Regions from separate parts of the Homo sapiens genome. Here all the other regions are linked to region 1. The links are contacts of gene promoters, found by promoter capture Hi-C in blood cells and fetal thymus (Javierre and others, 2016). All regions are on one chromosome and are shown on one strand. The core of a region is centred on a gene start or on the middle of the fragment in contact, and the rest is flanking DNA. Distances in the headings are between cores, read along the strand shown.

The links. Contacts are between HindIII fragments. The CHiCAGO score rates a contact against its expected background, and 5 or more counts as called.
Region 2: a contact is called between a fragment that was not itself captured here and the fragment with the promoter of ZBED2 in region 1, in 1 of 17 cell types (neutrophils). The highest score is 5.3, in neutrophils.
Region 3: a fragment that was not itself captured here is called in contact with the fragment with the promoter of ZBED2 in region 1 in 1 of 17 cell types (neutrophils); the score reaches 7.1 in neutrophils.

Annotation. Positions count from the first base shown.
Region 1 is chr3:111,592,510-111,597,482 of GRCh38, reverse strand. It overlaps ZBED2 (zinc finger BED-type containing 2), which reads left to right and starts at 2,137. Exons shown (of 2, transcript NM_024508.5): 1 at 2,137-2,183; 2 at 2,417-4,583. The coding sequence starts at 3,282. The coding sequence ends at 3,938. The region is part of intron 5 of CD96 (CD96 molecule); the gene reads right to left. The HindIII fragment of the contact is 5,050 bases long and covers 1-3,232 here.
Region 2 is chr3:111,921,292-111,926,222 of GRCh38, reverse strand. The region is part of intron 5 of PHLDB2 (pleckstrin homology like domain family B member 2); the gene reads right to left. Among named protein-coding and RNA genes, the nearest start is that of ABHD10, 55 kb to the left of the region's middle. The HindIII fragment of the contact is 4,210 bases long and covers 728-4,931 here.
Region 3 is chr3:111,954,494-111,958,963 of GRCh38, reverse strand. All of the region lies in intron 12 of PHLDB2 (pleckstrin homology like domain family B member 2), which reads right to left. Among named protein-coding and RNA genes, the nearest start is that of ABHD10, 22 kb to the left of the region's middle. RefSeq lists a silencer at 1,188-1,482. The HindIII fragment of the contact is 3,232 bases long and covers 1-3,180 here.

The sequences.
Region 1 (4,973 bases), core at 888-3,387:
CACAATTAGAAACCATGTCTCCTTAATCTCAGTCCAACATATTTTTTAATAAAAATTGTATTGAAATAAAAAAATGAAAGAAGTAACTATATTATGAAAGCAGAGAACTTAGATGCAGGGCTAGTTATGTTTTATTTTCAATGCTATGTTTGTTCTTTGGGGGATGATACTTTCTTTTACAGTCTGGTGAAAATATCCAGTGAGAATTATTGGATTCCCATTGTTTTATCTGAGACTCTTCAAAATTATAATTCCTTTTATAATTACTTGTTTTCTCATCAAGAGATGTATATATTTTACATATGACCAGCCCTAGTTCTTAGTTCTCAGATATTTTCCACAATTAATGAATATACTAGTTAACATGTAAAGAACAATTAAATGTATGTGATGATTTGTGTGCCAATCCTCAGACTAGTTACTCCCAAGAAGTCTGGGCCTATAGAGCTGAGAAACCAAATTCGAGAATGCTAACTAACATTTTCCTGGTGAAATCCTACAGAAGTTTACTATTTCTCAGTACATTGCTACAGAAATCCCAATGAAACAAGAGAATTTCAGAGGGGGTTGTCTAGCATATCCAAGATGCTGGGTGGCAAACACCGTAGCTCCCAGTATTCCCATCCGTTCAACACTTGCCTTTCCAGATAATGGGGATACATATATGGGCCAGGGATGCTAGTCTCTCCACTAAAAAATTAAAAGCAAAACCAGATCCTCTAAAATACATTCTTATTAAGTAAAGGAGAGTGTTCAGTTTAATTCAATAGATGCCAAAGATTGATTTTTATCTCCAGTTGGTCCAGGAAGAGACAAAAAGGTAAAGGAGGTAAAATGTTTTTTTAAAAAAAGAAAAAGATACAAAGTTTTGCATTAATCCAGTGACATTAACCATTCTTATGATTCATTTCCTTTCTCTTTAGTTAACCCACCAAAGATGACGATATGGTAATATCAGGAGTAAGTGGGGGTGTTATTATTTTACGAAGGCAACTGGCTCACTGAAGAACTCTGGTTAACGTCTAAAAATTTTGAAAAGATTTGACTTTCATGAATTCTCTAGGTTCAGATTTTCTGAAATGATCCAAATTTCAAACATTCTAGACTCTCTCTAGACTTTGCGTTCCAAGATTTGGTTTAGAAATGTGGTTCATGTTCTAAAACTCCTCCCAGTCTCATTCCTATTTTGAATCTTTTTCCCCCATCTTTTTTTTCTATTTTAATTTAACTGTCAACCTCTACATATTTTCTGCTATGCCATTTCTTTTTCTTTTCTTTCTTTTTTTATTTTTATTTATTCATTTTATTTATTTATTTTTTTGAGACAGAGTCTCCCTCTGTCGCCCAGGCTGGAGTGCAGTGGCATGATCTTGGCTTACTGCAACCTCCACCTCCCGGGTTCAAGCAATTCTCTTGCTTCAGCCTCCCAAGTAGCTGGGATTACAGGCGTGCACCACCACACCTGGCTAATTTTTGCATTTTTAGTAGAGACAGGGTTTCACAATGTTGGCCAAGCTGGCCACGATCTCCTGACCTCAAGTGATCCACCTGCCTCGGCCTCCCAAAGTGCTGGGACTACAGGCAAGATCCATGGCTCCTGGCCTGCAATGCCATTTCTATCTTTCCTTTTATAACACAAAGTTTTTTCTTCTTCTATTGATACCTTCTTTAGAGTCTTCCTATCTCCTCTTGGTAGGTTTTCCTTCTCAATCTAAATATGTATACACACACATATATATATTATGCATATTATATATAATGTATGTATATATATAATATATATGTGTGTATACATTTAATATTTCAGCCTTTCCCACTCTTCCTCCTTCAAATCGCTTGCTTTACTTGAGAGGTTAGGTAATCTAGTCATCAAAAAAGAGAACTAAGACTTGTAGGTGCTTGACTTACTGTTTTGCTGCATGACATATGCCAGGAACATCCTTTTCTTGGTGGTGGAGGGGGTGGAGAAAAGGTTTGCATCTGTGTCTAAGTGTTGCAGAAAAACCCAACAGGCACAGACACACCTACCTGGAAACAATGCTTCCCTAGAAGTGGGAGGAAACCAGAACTGGAGGTGCCCTCCTTCTGGGGGTAGGAGTCAGCTAATAGACATCCAAGGTGTGCAGGAGTGCTTTCACTCTGCGCAGGAAAGATCAGAGAGAAGTCCAGAGCCTTGCCTGCTTGTAAGTACCCACTTGTGGCTGGGGGGAATTTCCTAACTGTTCACGGTTGCAGAGCTTGATTAAATAAAGCTCTCATTAGTTTAAGAAATGACCCAAGAAAGGAGAGAGAAGTCGGGCTGTTTTTAAATGTAATATGATTTTCCATTTACTTATTTATCTTTAAAATGAGGTAAAGAGCAAAACATCTGGAGTAAGTTGCCTCAGGAAGGTCTTATTGGCTGTTGGCTTTGCAGGTGATCCTGGTGGAGAAGGTGGAGTATGGTGAGCTGCTTGCTAAGGACAGCCAGGCAACGCTGTGTTTGTGAAGATGTGCTCCACCTTCTCCTCTGTGCATCCCAGCTCCTCCTGCTGAAACAGCTGAGCTTGCTTTTTGGATTTCTTAGACTCCTGGCCTCTGAGAGACACCTCTAAGGACAAACTGACCTTGCATTGGGAACTTTATTATCCAGATCCTCATAGGCTTTGTCTACTCTGGATTGCTTGTTGCAACAGTTCTTAGGAAGCAAGATTGTCTCCTGCACCAGCATCTGCCTGTGTTTGCTTTTACCTACTTTGAGCAAGACCCAGTGAGGCCCTAGCTCTGTTGGTCCTGAAAAGCCTGAACCCTGAGGCTGTTTCTCCTGCCTCCAAAATGCAATTATAGGAAATAAGAAGCACAGAAACAGTGGAAACAACCAGGAGGAGAAACAAGAAAACCTAAAATTTTCAATATTCAAAAATACCTGTCGTGGTGGTTGATGCAGAAAACACTGAGTTCATCAAAGAGCTTTGTAATTGTTGGACCAGAGAACCCCTTTGCTACAGGAACTGATATGTTTTGTCTTTCTGGCCTAGTCAAGGGAGGATAAGTAAGTATCTGGGGCATGGAAGGAATGCACTCTTGGGCTGTTTTGCTTGTATCTGACTCACCCCTGACTCTCCAGTGAAGCAGAAAGGAAGAAACCTCACACCACCCAGGTGTGGCCAGACTTTGGCCATTATTGTGAATCCCCAAGAGTTACCACAGGCCCTTCCCAAATATATATTTAATCTTGTGGTTCAAATAAGCTTTTGGCTCACATCTAAGCACATCATAAAGAACGCTGTAGAAGAGGTGACATGATGAGGCGGGAAGACGAGGAAGAGGAGGGAACAATGATGAAGGCAAAAGGGGACTTAGAGATGAAGGAGGAGGAAGAGATTAGTGAGACAGGAGAACTGGTTGGCCCTTTTGTGAGTGCTATGCCCACTCCAATGCCCCACAACAAGGGCACCCGGTTCTCTGAGGCATGGGAATATTTCCACCTAGCTCCTGCTCGTGCTGGGCACCATCCCAACCAGTATGCCACCTGCCGCCTGTGTGGCAGGCAGGTGAGCCGTGGCCCTGGGGTCAACGTGGGCACCACTGCACTGTGGAAGCATCTGAAAAGCATGCACAGAGAGGAGCTGGAGAAGAGTGGCCATGGTCAGGCTGGGCAGCGCCAGGATCCAAGGCCCCACGGGCCCCAGCTCCCCACAGGCATTGAGGGTAACTGGGGTAGGCTCCTGGAGCAGGTGGGCACCATGGCTTTGTGGGCCAGCCAAAGGGAAAAGGAGGTGCTTAGGAGGGAAAGGGCAGTGGAATGGCGGGAGAGGGCTGTGGAAAAAAGGGAGCGAGCCCTGGAGGAGGTGGAAAGGGCCATCCTGGAGATGAAGTGGAAGGTGAGGGCTGAGAAGGAGGCATGCCAGCGGGAGAAAGAGCTGCCTGCAGCAGTACATCCCTTCCATTTTGTTTAAATTGGGCTTGGAGAATCTATTCTGAAAACATTGACTCTAGACTTGTAGAAAAGAGCCATTTTAGTTTCAACTCAAATGTAAAGCAAAGTAGTTTGGTGACATTTTGCTTTTATGTGAAATAGTGCACAGTATGAGTTAATCTGAGCAGGTCTGAATTGACCAAATGCTTATCTACGAGGTTCCTAGAGCTCTGCTGACCCTTGGCCGAAACTCTAAAATGTACCTATTAAAGATAAATGCTTCTACCAAAGTAAAACTCTGTGAGTTGTTTCAGGGCAGAATGTACCAGCCAGTCAGCGTTGTTTAACAAAATAATCAGATTTTTGCCTAGCACTCGGTTTTGGTGGAGCTGACGATTTTGAGGGCTGAGGCTGGTTAGGTAGCTGGAATGTGCCTATGTGACCAGCTCACTTGCAGACACCCTGCCGGAAGCAGAGCTTAATCTTCCTAGGACTGAGGTCTTAGCACATGTACTGGTGGAGTTTCCAGACCACCAGTATGAATAAAAGCTTGTTCTGTGTGACCCAGCAAGTGGAAGGACAAAGAACTGTGAGCCTCAGATCTTTGGACCTTTCCAATGCGTCTCTTTCTCCTGTTATTGCTGCAATGTATTTTCTTGCTTATATTAAAGTTGTTTCATCAGTATAATCTGAGTCCGGTGTGTCTTTTTAACAACCTAATGCTTAAACTAATTAATGTGTAATTAGCACAGAGAAATGAAAAACCTCTCAACTTACTTAGTTTAAACATTCAGTATAGATTATATAAAACTTATTCATAAATAGTTAAAATATAATCTGATTTCATATTAAGGTTTGTCAAAGGAAAAGGAGTTAGTGAGGAAGAACTGAAAGAAATTCAGAATGAAAAGAAGGCAGAGATATAAAGGAAGTAAGGAGAAATAAAGAACAGAGGAAGGAAAGTTAGAAATAAATGGGATAGAGAAGAAATGCAAAGATGGGGAAGAGAGACAGTGCTCTAGGGAAAATTTATCATGAAAATGGAAGAGAACATGACTGTCTGAATGAGGGAAGG
Region 2 (4,931 bases), core at 1,583-4,082, 330 kb before region 1:
GTAGAAACATTAGGAAGTCAAAGAATTTAAGATTTCATTCAGGTACATGTTGTATGGCACAGAATGATTTAAGCTTCAGTTCAAAACTTTAAGTGTGTTTCATGTGTTTAAGAGTGCAGGCTAGGATGGCTACAAAATATAACAATGCATCTGTGTGAAGACACACAATATTTGTCCTTAAACAAAAGGATAGTTTGAGATATATGTTTATCATCTGGGTCATGGGAAGACCCCTCAGCACGTCTACTGAATCAGAAGCTTTTCTTAACCATTTTATTTAATTTTGGTACAACTGACTTGATTTTTGTGCGCTAAAAAGAAGCACAGATAAAACAGATAATCCATAAATAGAAGAAATTGAAAAATATTTTTAGTTTCAAATTTTTAACACAGCTAGAAATAGAGACAGAAAACCTACGCAAACAGATGCACACATCCGTATCTTCTTAGCCATTGCCTGAGATCAGGCTCTGCCTTGGAATGGGGATGGGGAGTAGAAGGGAAGGAAGCCAGTTCCACAGTCAGGCCTTTGCCCAAGCTGGGCTTCATGGTGCTAGCGGTTTCCCTACTCTGTCACCAGGCCCATTAAATGAAAACAGTTTGCTAGACCAGAGGTCCCAATCTTCTTTCACTTGCTATAAGAAAATGTGATGGTCTCTTTGCTTACTGCTTCACCAAGTAAATATACCCTCCAGATTTATGTCTGAGTTAGATCCTTGTTTAAGCTTTATCAATGTTCATAGTGGCTCCATCTGTGATGTGGCTACTATCCGAGAACACAACCGGCAGGTGGCATGTATCTCAAGGTCAGATGGAAACAGGGTTATTGATGTTCGTAACAGTGGTACCCCTAAGGGTAATAAAAGGCCAGTGCAGGAAACTGCTGCAAAAATGTTCAATAAATACACAGTAGAACAAACTGACTATATTTTATGTTTTCTATAGAAGTATGCCTATGGTTTATATTTTATAGGGTAACGAATGTGCAAAATAAAATGCATTCCTAAATCAGCTAAAAGAAGTAACACTAAAGACCAATCTTCAGAGCCAAAAAAATAACATCAGTAATTTCATATCAAGATTTGAATGCTGATGTCTGGGCTTGGTGGCTCACACCTGTAATCCCAGCACTTTGGGAGGCCAAGGCAGGCAGATCACCTGAGGTCAGGCATTCGAGACCAGCCTGGACAACATGACGAAACTCCGTCTCTATTAAAAATGTAAAAATTAGCTGAGTGTCATGGTGGGAGTCTGTAATCCCAACTACTCGGGAGGCTGAGGCAGGAGAATCACTTGAACCTGGGAAGAGGAGGTTGCACTGAGCCAATGTTAAGCCACTGCACTCCAGCCTGGGCAACAGAGAGAGACTCTGTCCCAAAAAAATAAAAAACAAAAGATTTGAATGGGGAGGCATTCTGAGGTATTATTAAACCTTTTTCCTATGGCTCCGGCCTTGTCTCCAAAATTCTAGAGCCAGGCTTACAGGATGTACTATTAACATCTGAATCGGAGCTTGCCCAACAGAGATATCTTTTCAGGTTTTGCTTTTCTCATTCCATGGTTTATATCTGACCACAGCAACAGGTGTATGGAAAAGGAAACACGATCCCTAAGGGGAAAGGCCACTTCCTCCTTCTGTCTTACGCTTTGGCATGATGGGCCGTGTGACTACAGGCCTCCTGGCATATGCACACGGGCAGCCCAGCCCAGCTGTCCTGAAACTTGGCTGCACTCTTTGGCAGGTGTTTGGCTCAGTGTTTTGCTAAGGCCCAGCCTGGACCAGCCATTAGCAGGAAAATCCAACAACAATATTCGTAAGCACACTGGGCAGTATCCTGCCTGGCACATGCTACGGGCTGGATAAACAGTGGATCACAGTGCCCTAGTGCCCTCCTCTATTTCACAGGCTAGAGTGGGATATAAATGTCTAGTAGGCTCAAAACAAACATAAATTATAAAATGTTTATCTGTAAAAAGAACAACAGGGAAAATCTAACCCGAACTGGAAAGGTCTAGGAGGGCTTTTCTGAAAAACTAACACTGATCTTGAGCCCTGAAAGACAGAACCAATGAGGCATGGAATATGAGGAAGGGAATTCCAGGTAGGGGAAAACAGTATCTGCAAAGGACTGGGGTTGGGGGAGGATGAATCTTTTAACAAACAGAAAGATAGAAAGGAAGGTGACTCTGAGAGTGCTGTGAAGAATGGGAGGGTGGTGACAGAAAGGCTGGTGACAGATCACACTACGGAATTTGGATGCATAGTCAAGTACAGTGTGATGCAAACCACAGTAATATGGTCTAATTTCTTCTTTTTAATCACATTGGCTGCTGTGAAGAGAATGGATTGAAGGAAAGCAAGTGGAAGTAGACTAAATAAGAGATTTTCATAATAGAGAAGAGAATGCTGTTAGTGGAGATGCAGAGATGTTGAAGCAATCAAGAAACAAGCTGGTAATCAACTGAATGTAGGGATGATAAGGAAAGACGTGTCAAGATCAATTTCCAGGTTTCTGTTGAACATATAGGTGAATAGAGATGCAATCTCCTGGTTGGAAAAACTAGAGGATGGAGGGTGGAGGGTGGAAGGCAAGGGAAAAGATAAGATCAAGAGTTCAGTTATGGGTGTGTTCAATTGGAAATACCCATGAAATATCCAAGTGGGGATGTCAGGTAGGCACAGGATATGAGTCAGAATTCCAAAAAGGGTTATGAACTAGAGAAATCCCTATGATAGTCACCAGCATATACAAGTTATTTGAAGCCATAGCTATAGAAGGACATGAGGGTACAAGAGAACTGAGTTCAGATGAGAGATAAAGAGTGAGAAAGAGGTAAGAGAAATAGATGGAAAACCAGAAGATTGTGGTACACAGAGGCAAACAAAAGGGAGACAGTGAAGAAGCACCAAGAAAAGAGCTGTCCCCTGTACTGAATGCTGCTCGGGAGTCTGATCATGAGGGGACTGAAAAGCACCCAGCAGGCTGGGCACCACTGAGGTCTTTAGTAGTCTTAACAGGAGAGAATCTGATGGAGGAGTAGAGGTCTAAGCCAACTGGAGTGGGAAGAATGTTTAATTGGAAAATGAAGAAAAGGAGACACAGTATACCCAGAAAATTGTTTAATAAGTTTAGCTATGATGAAGAGAAGAGAGATAAGGTAGTAGCTTATCGTTAATCGATAAAGTAGTAATTTATTTTAAAAATAATAATATTGGCATGCTGACAGTAAAGAGAGAGAAACTGACCCCAGGGGGTGAGGGTGCAGAAAGACTGAAGACCTCAAGAAGGTGGGATAGGATGACACCCAGAGCACATCCAAAGGGAGTGGTCTTTGATGGAAGGAGGGAACCCCGCCTTCATTGTGAGAAGATGGGATGCTTCTAATTTCTCTATGGTAAGATGATCTCTGAGCCAGAGGGATGAAAGTTGGCCAGGAGTATGAACAGAGTGTATGAAATAGCTGTGTCATTAAATGGTGGAATAAATTTATTTGAGAAACATAATAATGTTTTTGCCAAGCTGTGTTGAGTCTCTATTTGAGTTTAGTTGTCAAGAATACGTAGTAACATCATCTAGACCAGTCTTTGTTTCCACTTCCCACATCCTCTTCTGGAGTTCCTCACCCCAAGCCAGTTTCTGCCATTTTTCACATGATGTAATGACAGAGAATAATCCTACCTTCTAAGACCAACTAATTCCCTCATAGCTGTATGAGCTGGTCCTATGCGTCAAGCCCCTGTAGTCCCCTCTCCAGTGCATAGCCTCTGTCAAGCCATCAAAACAATATTAGGAAGGATGGAGGTAGCTTCCTTGCTTGTTTCTGCCCGTGTTCCTAGAATTCCACCTGAGAATTCCACCTTGAAAACATAAGATAACTTTCCCTGGGAAGTGAGATTTAACATTGGCTCAACTTGCTTCACTTTTGTGTAGAATCTGATATTAATGAGAAATACACAAATAGAATTTGCAGGCCATGCCATATGTGAGATACACAAAATAAATAACTACATGGATTAGGATGGCAGGAGGGTTCACAGGGAACATGATACCTAATTCCTATGTTGCACGAGTTTTCCAATATGATATACATAGCAATAAAACTACTCTACTATTACTTAATTTAATTAATATTTACTTGATAATAAAATATTAACACAAGACATCTGATGCCTCCAATGAAGGCTTCTTGCAGAATCTTTGAAAAGCATAGCCATTAACTGAATCCTTCAGTACTGCAGACTTAGACAGTCAACTCTTTGACTTCATTTTGGCCTTTTAGGAAAAATACACCCACTACCCAAATACTACTTAAAAGTTTGGGCCGGGCGCGGCGGCTCACGCCTGTAATCCCAGCACTTTGGGAGGCTGAGGTGGGCGGATCACGAGGTCAGGAGATCGAGACCATCCTGGCTAACATGGTGAAACCCCGTCTCTACTGAAAATACAAAAAATTAGCCGGGTGTGGTGGCGGGTGCCTGTAGTCCCAGCTACTTGGGAGGCTGAGGCAGGAGAATGGCTGAACCTGCGAGGCGGAGCTTGCAGTGAGCTGAGATTGCGCCACTGCACTCCAGCCTGGGCGACAGAGTGAGACTCCGTTTCAAAAAAAAAAAAAAAAAGTCTGGGGGCAGAATGAACGTACATAAAATTTAATATGAAAAGCCTGTGCAGTTTAATTCTGACATGCTGGTAACCAAGAAATTGATGTGTAGCATTTAATTTGACTTTATTTCTGACTACCATTTTGAGCTCATTCTCTGGCACCAAGATCAAATGCCCTTATTTATAGGTCTTAAACAAATAAGAGCCTAAAAAGGAAGTCACGTTCAGCAGAAATTCTTTCTACACATTACCACTAGAACTTACTCAAACTAAAAATTTTTTCTTTTTCTCAGCTTAGTGGAGAACATGTTGAGTAAGGAAGAATGTGTT
Region 3 (4,470 bases), core at 315-2,814, 360 kb before region 1:
ATTTGGCATGTGGATGTCATAAGATAAACAGTCACTGAATGAATTTATCTTTTCATCTATATATTCTATATAAATAGTCAAATAAGGAAGTGGAATGCATCTACTTTTTGAGGGGGAGCAAAGAAACAAGATTGGGAAAAATGAGACTTTCCCAACCCCTGAGACTATTTGGTTTCTGTTTTTTAATTATGTAGCAAGAATAACATTAATCAGTGGGAAAGCAACTAAAACAGTAAAAAGGGCCTTGAAAATGCTCTAAATCCTTCCTATCCAGAGAGAAATAGCTGTTTGAAGGGGTAGTTTATAAGGTGTATAAAGCAAGACCTAATTGAGGCTTGTTTCTAATCATAGCCACACAAGGAACCCAAACCAGTTCAGCTCTTCACTGCCTGGGACAGCCAAGGGACCAAATGTGCAAGGCCCATTTATTATTATTATTTTTAATGCCAGTCTCTATTAATTCTGGCTAATTGGACCTGAAAAGTCTCTTGTGAGTTAACGATTACACAATGTGTAGAGTCCTGCCAATACATTCCCAATATGTGGTATATACTTTTACATGGCTATCTGGGCTGTAATATAGAAAGTAAGATGACTTAAAGTATAACCTGGGGTTAAGAGGATAAAATTAACCAGTATTTCTAACAATTCAGCCTGTCATAGCTCACCTGCTGAGGAATTCATTCTTCCTAATGACAGTCCACAGCCAGAAGAAGAGGGCACAGGACAAGTCAGGAATGAAGAGGGAGAATGATTGTAGAAAGGGAAAAAGATACAAGATCAAAAAGGATGACAAGGGGGCAGGAAAAACATACAACACTTCCAACATGCACTCATTGATGGTGTTAGTTACAATAGCAAATTAACAAGGTATGATGTTCACAGTTTCAGATTAAATCCAAGTTTACAGAGAAAAACTCAAGAAACCTTAAAAAAAATTGATACATGCATAGTCAAAAAAGACTGTTACAAGACAAATAAATCTTTCACACATATTCATCAACCAGAAAATAGGAAGAATAAAAACAGATTATATCTATCAAACAATTCTTTTTCCAAACAGACAATAGCAAATAGTTTTTAAGAGCTCAAGTTTGTAAAATGCCATTCAATTATTTGAAGCACAGTTCATCAAGTTTTATAACACATCGTCTAACATCCTACATCTCTACCACCTAGCCACAGGAAATAACCATCTTACTTATTCAAGCCAATCATTTAAACTATACTTCACTCTCCACTAAGTCTTTCTTAGAAAACAGGCTCCAATGAAATGAATAAGTAGGAGCTTCCTAAATCCTTTCATCCTTTGACTGTAGCCTGACTTATTTATACCTGTCCTTTTTAAAGGAGAATCATGGTTTACACTTAGCTCATATACATCACAATACCCTCTATTCTCTTTATATAGATCCTGAATCTTACAAAACAATGCTTCCACAGCACTCATGTTTCCTGCAGGGTCTGACCTTGCGATTAAAAGCCAAAACAAAGAGGGTCATGCAGCTGCCAGTGAATGAACAGCAGCTGCACCCAGCATTGTGTTTCTTGCAAATGTGCAACAATTTTTCTCTATTGTGTAAAAGAAATAATCATTAGACTAAAAATCCACCACTGCACAGTGTTAAATCTGATCATTTCTTAAACATGACTTGACAATGACCTTTCAATATTTGCTGGAAACAAAAACACCACACAAGGAGGTTGTCATACCTTTCTTGGACTTTCCTGTATTTAACAAAAAACAAAAGGACAAAGATTTCATTCATTCTAAAGCTGACAAAGGAATAGTTCACAAGTTGTTCAAAAGCCAATAACCATTCCAACTTCAGAAGCTGAGTTTCTCAGCTCTCTGTTTTAAACTCTCCTCTCAAAGTTCTTTGCACGACTCACGCTGTCAGTTCTATTAACAGTGCTGATTAAGGCTTATACTTACACCATCATCCTTGATGTATCCATTACGAATAGCAGCAAAAAAAGGTGTATTTAAGTTAATTGTGTAAGTTTAAAAGATGATTAAAGTCTACTAAATGTGAGTTAGTGAAAATATGCCAGGTATAATTTTTTTCAAATCCATAGAATTTTACTTGTATTTGCTATTTTAATAAAGTTAACAAGTGCTAGTCAAACAATTCTAAATGAAATTATGATCCATCCCTCCTGGGTTTTTTGTGAACCACCAGTTTGGGCTGTGTAGAAAATCCTGCCAGTTTTACAGTCTGCTGGGGTTCTAAGAACTATAGACCCTGACTTCTCCTCCTCTGGGTAGGGGAGCCAAAGGCAGCAGGCTGTCTTTTCAGAACACATCTCCTTGGACCAACACGCATATAATGGTTCTTTATTTCCTCAGAAGCTGCCCCATCAGAATTACATGAAACTCTTCAAGAGGAAGAGCACTTCACAGTTACAGCAGAGAAAGACTGAAGTTGCAGTCTTCTGAGCTGCATAAAGGACGTATCAATAAAGAACAAGAGCACTAAAGATAAATCAAAGACAGATTTGATTTTGCAACGGGAACATCAGTAATGTGGCCTAAGGGAATTAGCTCAGTTTTCCTCTATGAAACTGGCATGGGATTCCCATTACTTCAGGGGAAAACAGATTAGAATAACTGAGATCAAACCTTCCCTCGGTTTCACCATATTCTCACAAAATCCTCTTAAATGGTAATGTTAATGGCTCTTGAGTTTTGCTAATCTATTTATTTACTATAAAGTTCTAGTTTTTCTTACTCTTTGAGAAAATACTTTTATTTATTAATTTATTTTTTGAGACAGGGTCTTGCTCTGTTGCCTAGGCTGTAGTGTAGTGGCATGATGGCAGCTCACTACAGCCTTGACTCCCAGGCTCAAGCGATCCTCCTACCTCAGCCTCCTGAGTGGTGGGGACCACAGGTGCATGCCACCATGCCTGGCTAATTTTTAAATTACTTGTAGAGATGGGATCTCACTATGTTGCCCAGGCTGGTCTCAAATTCTTAAGCAATCTTCCCTCCTCAGCCTCCCAAGGTGCTGAGAGTAGAGGCATGAGCCACCACACCTGGCAAGAAAATGCTTTTAACATGGAGTATAGTAATTTGTGATCCCACCCTCTTTCCCAAATGCTTGCTCTTTCAATTAAACACCTGAAGTACATGAAAATGCTTAATGGTCTTTGTTGGTGTTGTGGCCAATCTAAGCTTTGATGTCTTCCGACGGTGGGAAAAATATATTTAAAAAGAAGTCTAATACATGCCTGTAATCCCAGCACTTTGGGAGGCCAAGGTGGGAGATCACTGGAGCCCAGGAGGTCGAGACCATCCTGGGAAACATGACAAAAACCCATCTCTGCCAAAAAATACAAAAATCAGCCAGGTGTGGTAGCACACACCTATAGTTCCAGCTTACTCGAGAGGCTGAGGTGGGAGGATCACTTGAACCCAGGTGGCAGAGTTTGCAGTGAGCTATAATCACACACCACTGCATTCCAGCCTGGACAACAGAGTGAGACCTTGTCTCAAATATTTATATGTAAATATTACAGAAAAATGTTTCAACAGCAAATAGACTTGACCCACAACTTAACAGTGATAAATGAGAGCCAAAATAGATGGATTTATGTTTATTATTTATAAACATCAAAAGAATATGTTTAGCTTATTAAGAAATTATGGCAAAGAAAATAAAATAGTTCAATCAGTTTATTTGATTCAAATATTACCACTGCAAATGTCTCTTACACATTATAAACCTATTATGAATACTATACCCTCTAATTTTTAAATCGCCTTTAGTAATGATTTGAAAACCTCGTTCCAGTGAGAGATATATATATATATATCATATATACATACACAATACACATTATGTGCACATATATATAAATTTATGTATGTATATGTAGCATATATGTATTACATATATGTGCGTGTGTGTGTGTGTGTATATATATATTTTCCCCTGATGGAAAACCAGTGTTATCTCTCAGTACCATTGGCAGAGAGGCCAAAGAGCTAGAATCGAATTCCAGCCTGCTTAGAGGGGAGGATTTGAATCCCATCACTGCATGAATGTATTTGAAGGCCAAATGCCTGCCATCCCCAAAGCATTTCCATTTATATCCTGGGCATACCGCCATTATTTCATTTACCACATTTTATTGAAATCATCTGTTCTGTGTCTTTCTTCCTCAATAGACTATAAACATTTCAAAGGCAAGCTTCCTATCATTCATTTGCATTCTTGGCACCTAGCATCGTGCCTGCTCAAAAGTTAGGGCAATGTAACTTGTTGACTTAAACTATTGTGTTAACACAAGAAATCTAATCCTCTCAACAGGAAGCTTAGCCCTGGAACTACATTACAGTAATTTCTTCTAGCCCCATGAAGACTATCTGAGAATCCCATTATAAATGTAATGTATTACTACAAAAAAAAATGCTGAGAGTCAAAGTCTACCTGAAACATAACAACTATGAAGTATAAAAGCTCA